2 separate regions of the Homo sapiens genome follow, and region 1 is linked to region 2. The links are contacts of gene promoters, found by promoter capture Hi-C in blood cells and fetal thymus (Javierre and others, 2016). All regions are on one chromosome and are shown on one strand. Each heading gives the region's core, a stretch centred on a gene start or on the middle of the fragment in contact. The rest is flanking DNA. Distances are from core to core; before and after follow the strand shown.

Evidence for each region. Contacts are between HindIII fragments. The CHiCAGO score rates a contact against its expected background, and 5 or more counts as called.
Region 1: the fragment with the promoter of SERPIND1 here is called in contact with the fragment with the promoter of LRRC74B in region 2 in 17 of 17 cell types (naive CD8 T cells, naive CD4 T cells, M0 macrophages and 14 more); the score reaches 14.9 in naive CD8 T cells.

The regions. Positions count from the first base shown.
Region 1 is chr22:20,772,184-20,777,502 of GRCh38, forward strand. SERPIND1 (serpin family D member 1) reads left to right here and starts at 1,930. Exons shown (of 5, transcript NM_000185.4): 1 at 1,930-1,962. The region is part of intron 19 of PI4KA (phosphatidylinositol 4-kinase alpha); the gene reads right to left. The HindIII fragment of the contact is 9,953 bases long and covers 1-2,059 here.
Region 2 is chr22:21,044,152-21,049,209 of GRCh38, forward strand. It overlaps LRRC74B (leucine rich repeat containing 74B), which reads left to right and starts at 1,795. Exons shown (of 10, transcript NM_001291006.2): 1 at 1,795-1,974; 2 at 3,205-3,347; 3 at 3,733-3,865; 4 at 4,800-5,006. The coding sequence starts at 1,836. It also overlaps the pseudogene P2RX6P. The HindIII fragment of the contact is 8,622 bases long and covers 1,241-5,058 here.

The DNA of each region.
Region 1 (5,319 bases), core at 680-3,179, 270 kb before region 2:
AGAGCAGAATACTGAGAGCTGGAGGCCAAGGGGCAATTTCAGCCAGGGTGGCTGGTGACGCCTCGGTGAAACCAAGAGCGAACAGTGAGAGCAGCGGCCACCTGCTGGTCTGCAGGGATGGTGTCCTGGGCAGAAAGAATAGCAAGTGCCAGGGCTGTGCTGGGGCCGGGCTTTGCATGTGTGAGAACAAGACAGAGAATGAGGGAGGTGGGCCCACGAGGAGTGTGGGCACAGACAGCAGCCTCTGCCTGTGGTGCCACGCTGAAGACTCAGTATTGTATGTGACAGATGAAGGCTCTAAGAAGACAGCTCTGACAAAAGCTAGAGTGCAAAATCAGACTCAGACACAACCACCGGTCTGTGTCCTGAACACAATGGACCTTTACACTCTGGAATTTCTCAAACGGAGCAATGCACAGACACCCCCATGGGCCCCTTGCACACCCGCAGATTCTCCTAGGAGTCACATTCTCTCTTCAGATAGACTCTGGGTGCCGACACTCCCAAACATGCTCTTGAGGAGCAGTCTCTGTGATAAGCTGATCTTCCAGACAATCCAGAATATTCTTAAAACTTTTTAGATCATAAAATTTAAAACACAAATTAAAAAACAAATTATCATAAGGCCGGGCACAGTGACTCATGCCTGTAATCCCAGCACTTTGCAAGGCTGAAGCAGGAGGATCACTTGAGCCCAAGAGTTCAAGACCAGCCTAGGCAACATAGTGAGACCCTGTCTCTACAAAAAAGTCAAAAGTTAGCTAGACATGGTGGTGTGCACCTGTATTCCCAGCTACTTGCAGGGCTGAGGTGAGGAGGATTGCTTCAGCTCGGGAGGTTGAGGCTGCAGTGAGCCAAGATCACGCCACTGCACTCCAGCCTGGGTAACAGAGTGAGACCCTGTCTCAAAAAACACATAGGGCCAGGCGTGGTGGCTCACGCATGTAATCCCAGCACTTTGGGAGGCCGAGACGGGAGGATCACTTCACTCCAGGAGTTCAACACCAGCCTGGCCAACATAGTGAAACCCCGTCTCTACTAAAAATACAAAAAATTAGTTGGACATGGTGGTGTGCGCCTGTAATCTCAGCCACTCAGGAGGCTGAGGCAGGAGAACGCTTGAACTTGGGAGACAGAGGTTGCAGTGAGCTGAGATCGCACCACTGCACTCCAGCATGGGCAGCAGCGCGAAACTCTGTCTCAAAACAAACAAACAAACAAACAAACACCCATAAACACAAAATGTATCACAGCCTCAGAGATCCCCACGAATGCCTAAGTGGCCCTGAATTTGGGAGGCACTGCTCAGTAATAGTCCTATCTGTCCCACAACAGACAGGAGTGCTGGGCTGCACCTACTGGCAACAAACACAGCAACCCTTGACTGAAGAAAGGTCCATGCCACAATCCCCTTATTCTGTAAGCCACTAATTTTGTCCTCTCTCCTCCACCTTTCACTGAGGAACGAGCTCTTGGAAGGACAGGGACACCCGCCTAGTAGCTGAGCCAGCCACATCAGTCCTGGAGAGCAGGTGGAGGGCAGATGCTGTGATCATCCCAGAAGAGAGGACACAGTTGGAGGCAGATGCATGGTCTCTACTTTCAGCTACCCTCAATGCAGCCTGGTCCCCAGAGGCCTGAAGAGCGCCTTGTTTATGTGGTGACCTCAAGAGGGGCTGCTCCTGCACCAAGGCTATGTGTGCATGCTAACACAGTAACCGTCATATACTCAAAGTGTCAGCTCTAAGAACTGGAGATGAGGAGCTGCAAGCCACTCTACAGTTATCAAAGGCACAGCTGAGGGGGTTTGTGCTGACCAAGCTGGTTGCCTGGTGTTTGGATTGGGACTTATTTACTTTGGAAAATATGCAGCAACAGCCCAGCACCAAAGTTCACATCAAAATCCCACTGATGACCTTGGCTGCTTTCATCTCTGAAGCGCCACTTCTCAGAAACACAGAGGTAAGTTGGGTTTCTAATGTTTCTGCTGATTATAAATTATTTTTGGTGTTTACGGATAGGCAACTGGTTCATTTTTCTAGCAAACTAAGAATTCAGAAGCTTTCTACACTGTTTTAGAAGTGGGAAATGGTTTCATTTTTCAGTGTGCCTATTATAAAATTGTGTCAGTTCCATTGTTGGGAGAGTTGACAAACTTAGAATAGGAGCTGTGGAATAGATGAAAATATTGTACTTATATTAAATTAATCGAATTGGATAACTGTCCTGTGATTATGTATGAGAATATCCTTGCTCTTGGGTATTTTCCCTGAAGTATTAGTATTAAAGGTTAGAGGGGCCGGGTGCAGTGGCTCACGCCTGTAATCCCAACACTTTGGGAGGCCGAGGCGGGTGGATCACGAGGTCAGGAGTTCAAGACCAGCCTGACCAACATGGTGAAGCCAAGTCTCTACTAAAAATACAAAAATTAGCTGGGCGTGGTGGCACGCGCCTGTAATCCCAGCTACTCAGGAGGCTGAGGCAGGAGAATCGCTTAAACCCGGGAGGCAGAGGTTGCAGTGAGCGGAGATCGTGCCACTGCACTCCAGCCTGGACAACAGAGTTAGACTCCGTCAAAAAAAAAAAAAAAAAGAAGAAAAAAGAAAAAATGTTAGAGGAACAAGATATAGGAGACCTACTCTCAAATGGTCTAGAAGAAAAAATGTGTATGTGCATGCCTGTGAGAACACACACGTACGTACACACACACACAGATAATGACAGGGCAAAGGTTCCAAAATTTTAAACCTGGTAAATCTCGGTACGGGTATACAGGAGTTGTTCTACTACACTATTCTTTCAACATTTTTGGAAGTTTGAACTTACTTCAAAATAAAAAGTTTTCCAAACTTTAGGCAGTTACTTCTCTCCCATTCTGCCTGCTCTGTTGGGCCTGGAGACCATACACCAGGAGGGATGACGGTTTATCAAGTGTTATGCTCTGATGCGTGACTGAAAAGGCCAACCCAGCTCTGGCAATTAGCAAGAAAGCACAATATGAAGTTCCCAGGAAAAAAAAAAAGCAAAACAAACTTTTGAATGATTTATCTTTAAAATATATTGTTTCTCTTCAAACAGTAATCTGGATTTAATCACAACCTAGTGATAGTTTTTAAACGTCTTCTACAATGTTTGTTATACTAAATAGCAAAACATCAGGAAGATTTACCTTCAGATCTTTAATTTCAATCCATAAAAGATATCAGAGATATTTTCTCCTTCCTCTGGTAAGGGAATGACGAAAACTATTTTTGGCTTTTTATCAGATAATGTGGGAACAGGGTATAAGAAGTTTCCAAATATAACTTCTGAATACCGGGATAAAACATGCATGTCTTTACTCTGCCACTCTATCTGGCCTCAGATACGTTTTCCTGAATGCTTATTTATTCAAGTTGGTTTTTGTTTTGTTCTTTAACCTTATTTTTATCTGAGAAGAAAACATTTTCCCCCTTTGTTCCTTCTTCTTTTGGCTTTCTTTTTTAAAATAGAGATGAGGTCTTGCTATGTTGCTCCAGCTGGTCTTGAACTCCTGGGCTCAAGCGATCCTCCTGCCTTGGCCTCCCAAGATGCTAAGATTACAGGTGTGAGCCCCTATGCCTGGTCTTCTTCTTCTTGATCTTAGCCAAAAGGCCAAGAAGTGATAAGAGGAGGACACTTGAAGTGTAGTTGGGCAAGGAGCCTTCTACCAGCTGCTTACTTTCTTTGTTCCTGACTTTTAAAAGTGTGTTGCTATTGATACACAGTCTCCTGATATGTAAAATGCTGGGAGGATGAAGCTAAGTTACTCAAAGTGCCATTCAGAAACTGGGCCCAGTTCTATTTGCAGCTACATACATTAGAAATCATTTCTAGAGGCTGAGCATGGTAACTCATACCTGTAATTCCAGCACTTTGGGAGGCCAAGGCAGGAGAATTGCCTGAGCTCAGGAGTTTGAGACCTGTCTGGGCAACATGGTAAAACCCCATCTTTACCAAAAACACAAAAAATTAACTGGGTTTGGTGGCACACACCTGTGGTCCCAGCTACTTCAAAAGGCTGAGGTGGGAGGGTCTCTTGAGCCTGAGAGGAACAGGTGGCAGTGAACCAATATTGTGCCACTGCACTCCAGCCTGGGTGACAGAGTGAGACCCCGCCGTCTCAAAATAAAAATAAAAAGAAATCGTTTCTAGAAACTGTTTTCCCGTGTGTAAACTAGTGGCACTGCAGCCTGAGGCAGGTGCTGAGATGGGGACCTGGAAAAGGCAACAGGCATTTTGAGTCAGAAACAATGTGACTTTCCTGCTCCAAAATGTGCAATTCAAAAGTCTTTCTTAGTTGTGACTAAAACAAACTTTGAACTTACTATTTCAACAGTATTATAAGGGGAAGACCCAAGGAATGGGACTGGCACTGGGAAAACAGCTAGGAAGCTGCTCTGCACGGCCAGGGAGTCTGGAAGCATCCTGGTACTCCAGAGCGAACAAGGCTGAGCGCTTGATGTGGGGCTTAGAGGCTTAACCAACTTGGTTCGAATCTAGCCACTGCCACTTATTAGTGACAGTGACGAAAGGCTCAGTCTCCTGATATATAAAATGTTGGGAGGATGAAACTAAGTTACACGAAGTGCCTTATACAGCGTGTCAGGCATCCAACAGAGGCCATTATCAACATTAACCACACTGACAGCATTTCAAGCAGAGTATCCGAACAGTTACCCCATCTTCAGGCCTACTGAGTTCAAATATTTGCTTAACAAGAGCAGCCAGTAACTCTTACCTGGCCTCAACTGGCAGCAGATATTCTGGGCCTCAAATATCTATCTAATAGGAAATGGTCACAGACACAAAATAAGCTTAACAAAAGGCAGTTTTTTTTTGTTTTTTTTTTGTTTTCTGTTTTTTGAGATAAGGACTCACTCTATCCCCCAGGTTGGAGTGCAGTAGTGGCGTGATCACGGCTCACTGCAGACTCAAGTGATCCTCCTACTTCAGCCTCTCAAGTAGATGGGACCACAGGCGTGTGCCATCACACCAGGCTAATTATTTTTCTTTTCTTTTTTTTTTTTTTGAGACGGAGTTTCGCTCTTTTTGCCCAGGCTGGAGTGCAATGGTGCGATCTTGGCTCACCACAACCTCTGCCTCCTGAATTCAAACGAATCTCCTGCCTCAGCCTCCTAAGTATCTGGGATTACAGGCATGCGCCACCACGCCGGCTAATTTTTTTGTATTTTTTGTAGAGACAGGGTTTCTCCATGTTGGCCAGGCTGGTCTCGAACTCCCGACCTCAGATGATCCGCCCACCTCGGCCTCCCAAAGTGCTGGGATTACTGACCTGAG
Region 2 (5,058 bases), core at 545-3,044:
AGGTGGCTTCACGAAGTCGGCCACATCCCACAGCCGGTTTCCAAGCTCCTTGATCTGAGTCACGGAAACCCCTTTGAGTTTGGTTGTGATGGAAATCTGGGGTTCCAGGTCCCGCTCCTGGTAGCCTTTTTTGGCGAGGAGCGCCCACCTGGGAAGGAGAAGATGGGCAGTGTGGTGTCCCCCCAGCGTGTAGTGACGGGGCAGAGCTGGGCCCTACATGCTCAGTTCTCTCCCCACACCCTACAGGCTCCCAGTCCAGCATCCTCTCTGGCCCCACTTCCCACTGTAGACTCCCTGAACGAGACAGAAGCTCCAGCCATGCATCAGAGAGCCAGTGCCCTCAGACAATCACCTTCACTAGCCAGCACCCACCCCCAGCCTCAGTAGACCCAGCTCCGAGCTTATAGACTCCCCTGACCGGAGATATAGCTGGTGGTCTCTCTGGGGGCCTAGTGCTCCAGCTCTCACAGATGTTAAGGACAATGTCTTGTGCCCCCTGGGTGGGGCCGTGGGGAGGGACTGGGAAGCAGGCAGGTGGACACACAGGACAAACACACAGCTTGTTCTTGCTCTCCTGTCTTGTATTGCCTACCTCCCACCCCGTCCCATTATGGCCCCTTCCCCTCCAGCCCCTAAACAGCCCAACCCTCAACTTCAACCCAGCAGGACCAAGCCCCACCCCCGACCTCTTCCCTTGCCCCTCCAGCCTGGCCAAAAGCTCTTCTCTCTTACCCTACCACATAGACGACGATCCCAAACTGCAGCAGCCTCTGCAGGGCGCCCCCCCACCAGTTCCTGGTCATCACATACTTCTCCGTTTTATAATCCAGAAGCCCCTAGTCTGCTGTGGCCCCTGGGGAGCCCATGCTGCCAGCTCCTGCTAGCTGCGGGCACATGAGTCAGCATGGCAGCTGCAGCCGCAGCTGAACAGGAGGCAAAGCAGGGCCCGAGCCAGGCCACGCCAGCCGCTGTTAAAGGGACACTTCCACTAAAGCAGGATCCAGCCTCCAACACCCAGCCTTCAGCCCCTAACCCCAGCTGCCCTGCACCTCCCACCCTCCCTACATTCTCTTTGCTGGGCCCTGGTGGCACACAGAAAACAGCAGCTCTGTCCCTGCCCTCTGGCCTCACTTCCTCCGGTGGGAGTGGACGTGGTGAGAGGATGGGGAAGGACAGCTGTTATCAGTGCTGTGAGAAGACGGCCTGAGGGCAGCAACAGCCCCGGGGGGGCTCTGAGTAAAGCTTCAGGAATAAGTGACTTCTGAGCTGACGCTTGCAGATTCTGAAGTTCAACAAGCAGACAAAGATGGGGATGGAGGTTCCCAGGGGAGCGAACAGCGTATGCAAAGGCCAGCGCATGCAAGAGAACTGAGAGCCACAGAGTGAGAGGGTGACCTGGCTCTGCGAAGTTCCCCAGGCCCTCCTGAAAAGCCATTCCCAAGTGCAGTGAAGAAAACACAAGCTCTGGAGTCAGGCATGTTTCCCATTCCATGAAAGGGGGGCGATGCTGGAACCGCCTAGGGGAGGCAGGGGGATAAACGCAGCAAGGCGCCCAATCCGGTGCATGGTCTGTGGCGCATGCAGTGTATCAGCCCGGGCGAGGAGCCTCAGCACAAGCCGGCCACAGTTTCTACGGCAACCGACAACACCGGGTTGCCGGGGCGACCGCCGCGGGAGAGCGCGTCGCTATTGGCTGTGGGGGGTGCCTGTTGCTGGACGGCACATTCGGTTGGTCAGCGCAGCCGCAGACTCCGCCCACAATCCCGGGCCGCGCTCTGGGCGCGGGGTCAAGCTGTCTCCGACTCAGTGTCTGAGACTGCGAGAGGGTCGTAACCATGAGGGGTTCCTGTGAGAGGTCTGGGGAGGATGAAGAGCAGAAAGAAGAGGCTATGGTGGCCTGTGGGCGTCTTTCAGGGGTCCCCGAGGCCGAGCAGGGTCCCGAGGCCAATTGGGACTCCGACCTGGAGACGGAAGGTGCTCGGGGGAGGGGGCAGGCCCGACTCCTCCCCTTTGGGGGTCTTCTCCCGCAGGGGTTGGGGGAGGCGGGCTGGGGCTAAGGCCAGCAGGGAACGTACCCGCCTGCGGGGCGCCTCCAGCCCCCTGCCTTCCCTTCATTGCTCCTGGAAGCATCAGGATAAAATGCAAAATCCCGCCAGACAGTGCACCAAGGGCTGTCCCACCCTGAAATGAAATCAGAGCCGGGTTTTCCCAATCCACAGGAAAAACTAAGCTAATGGATGTATGGAATTTAGAACTATCTCGGTTTTTTCTCCCGTAAAATGTTTACAAAACATTTGTGGCCTGCAATCCAGGTTAAAAGACACAGCATGCAATTTGGCATCAGACAGGCAGAGGCCTGACTCTGGCAGGATTAGCTACCACCACTAGCTGTGGGATGCTCAGCGCAGGCCAGCCATGACTTCTACTACAAACAACATTGGGTTGCTTGGGCTCATATTTATTAATAAATAAATATATAAATAAATTATTTATTTATTAGAGCCAGGGTCTTGCTCTGTCACCCGGGCGTCAGTGCAGTGGCAGGATAATAGCTCACTGCAGCCTTGAACTCTGCACTCTAGTGAGCCTTCTGCCTCAGCCTCCTGAGTAGCTGGGACTACAGGAGACCACCACGTCTGGCTAATATAAAAATTTTTTGGCTGGGTGGGGTGGCTCACGCCTGTAATCACAGCACTTTGGGAGGCCCAGGCAGGCAGATCACCTGAGGTCAGGAGTTCGAGACCAGCCTGGCCAACATGGTGAAACCCCGTCTCTACTGAAAATACAAAAAACTAGCCCAGTGTGGTGGTGGGCGCCTGTAATCCCAGCTACTCGGGAGGCTGAGGCAGGAGAATTGCTTGAACCTGGGAGGCAGAGGTTTCAGTGAGCCGAGATCGTGCCACTGCATTCCAGCCTGGGTGACAGAGCAAGAGTCTGTCTCGAAAAAAAAAAAAAGAAAATTTGTCTAGCTATGTTGCCCAGGTTGTCCAGCTTTCTTTTGATAGCCGTATGACTTTAAGGAAAAGATTTGCGTTGCCTGAGGCTTGATGTCCTCATCTGTCATATGGGAGCAGTGGTCCCAAGAAGCACAGGAAGCAGTGCTTCTAGAGGCAAAACATAGGCCAGGTAGTGACACAGGGCAGGGGAGGACACAGGTGGCTGTAGCTGTGCAGGGTCCACATTCGTCCCCCTGTCTCCTGCCAGGCACCGATGGGCTTGGAGAACTGGTCAGGGACACACTGTACCTGAGGTCTTGCCGGGCCCATAGTGTTGTGCCCATCTCCTGCTTTCTGCGCCAAGGGAGCGCCCAAGAGCTGAACCTCCGGCACCGTGGCCTGGGGCCCCAGGTACCACTGGAGGGACACTGTATCCAGGCTTACGGGGAGAGGCCTCGGGAGACAGCAGCCATGGGAGTGCCCCTGTGTCTGTCCCCTACACTCCCCAGCTTCTGCCTGTGTCAGTCATGCCCTACCCTCCACATCTGGGAGACAGATGGGATTGAGGCTGTGACAGGTGGCGTTAAGGGTTGTGGATCCTGCAGGCTCCTAACCCGCTGGGGGGTCAGGGAGAGCTGGGGGTGGGGGGAGACCTTCACAGAGCCTAAAAGGAGAAGCAGGTGTCACTTAAAACAGGTGGGAAGGGGAGGGCTTTCCAGCTGGAGGATGTGGAGTGGGCTGAGCCCTGGAGCATGAGCCAGGATAGTGGCCAGTGTGTTTGCTCTGTCTGTCCCAGGGCGCCCGGGCTCTGGCTTCCTCATTGAGCTCCAATCCATATGTCAAGCGGCTGGACCTTCGAGACAATGGGCTCTGTGGGGCAGGTGCAGAGGCCCTGGCAGGTGCCCTGAGCAAAAGCAGCAGCATCCATGGTAGGTGCTGGGTCTGGGGCAGGTGGGCAGGCGTGTCCTCCTTTTCCTCAGGGATGTGCCTCCATCGTTGAAAGCTGGGCCGTGTCACCTGGGGCCTGCTGGTGTTGCTGGTGGATAGAAGAGGGGCCTCATCACAGGAGGGGGCATGTGGGGTGGAGTTAGACCCTCTGCTGTGCAGCCGATGCCTGATAGAAGTCCTTTCCTCACCCACCCCACACCATCACTCCCCTCCCTTGCTGGCCAGCATCCCCCTCTTCACCTAGCACATGGGAGACTCCCAGTACCTGAATGCAGGATGGGAGAGTCCTTCCACACAGAGAGGTGGGAGTTGGGCATTGTAAGAAGCAGGTAGGCAATGTGGGAGTTTGATGGGGCTGGATCCAAATGCCAGTTCTGCCACTGAAGAGCTGGATACCTGGGCAAGCAGCTTAACCTCTCTGAGCTTCAGTTTCTGATCTGTGAAATGGCCCCCAAAATACCTTATGGGCTTGGGGCTGTGGTGAGCATGAAGTGAAATGCACTCCTGAAGTGGTCAGAAGAGTGTGTGACCCATGTACGTGCTCCATGCATGGCCACTTGGGCTATTATTGCCAATCCTGGCAACGGGGCTGTGAGGGCTTCTGAAGTGGGTGGTGATATCACTGCCAGATGCAGCCATCGACGGTATAGCTGCCCCCCACCACAGCAGTCTCTACAGTACCAGGAGGTAGGCGGTTTTAACCACTTGACACAGAAGCTGGTGGGCACACAGGGAGGGGGAGGTCAGGGGCAGAGGGGACCCAGCCATTGGGAGCCAGAGCCACCATGCAACCCCAGGACAGTTAACCTGTAAGTCCCCTTCCTCAGCCTCAGACCTGGAGGTTTGGGGGATGGCAGAAGTAGGGGAGTGCCTGGCTTTGCATCCCACTGGCCGAGGAGTGGTTCTGTCCCCCAGATGTGGACCTGTCGGAGAACCAGCTGGGAGTGGCAGGAGCCCAGGCCCTCTGTGCCGCCCTCACAGTGAACCAGGCCATGCGGAAGATGCAGCTGTCAGGGAATGGCCTGGAGGAGCAGGCGGCCCAGCACCTTGCCGAACTCCTGCTGGCCCACACAGACCTGAAGTCCCTGGACCTGAGCTACAACCAGCTGAATGACCAAGCAGGTAACGCCTGCGCAGGGCACCATGGCCATGAAAGCTCAGCTTCCTGGGGCAG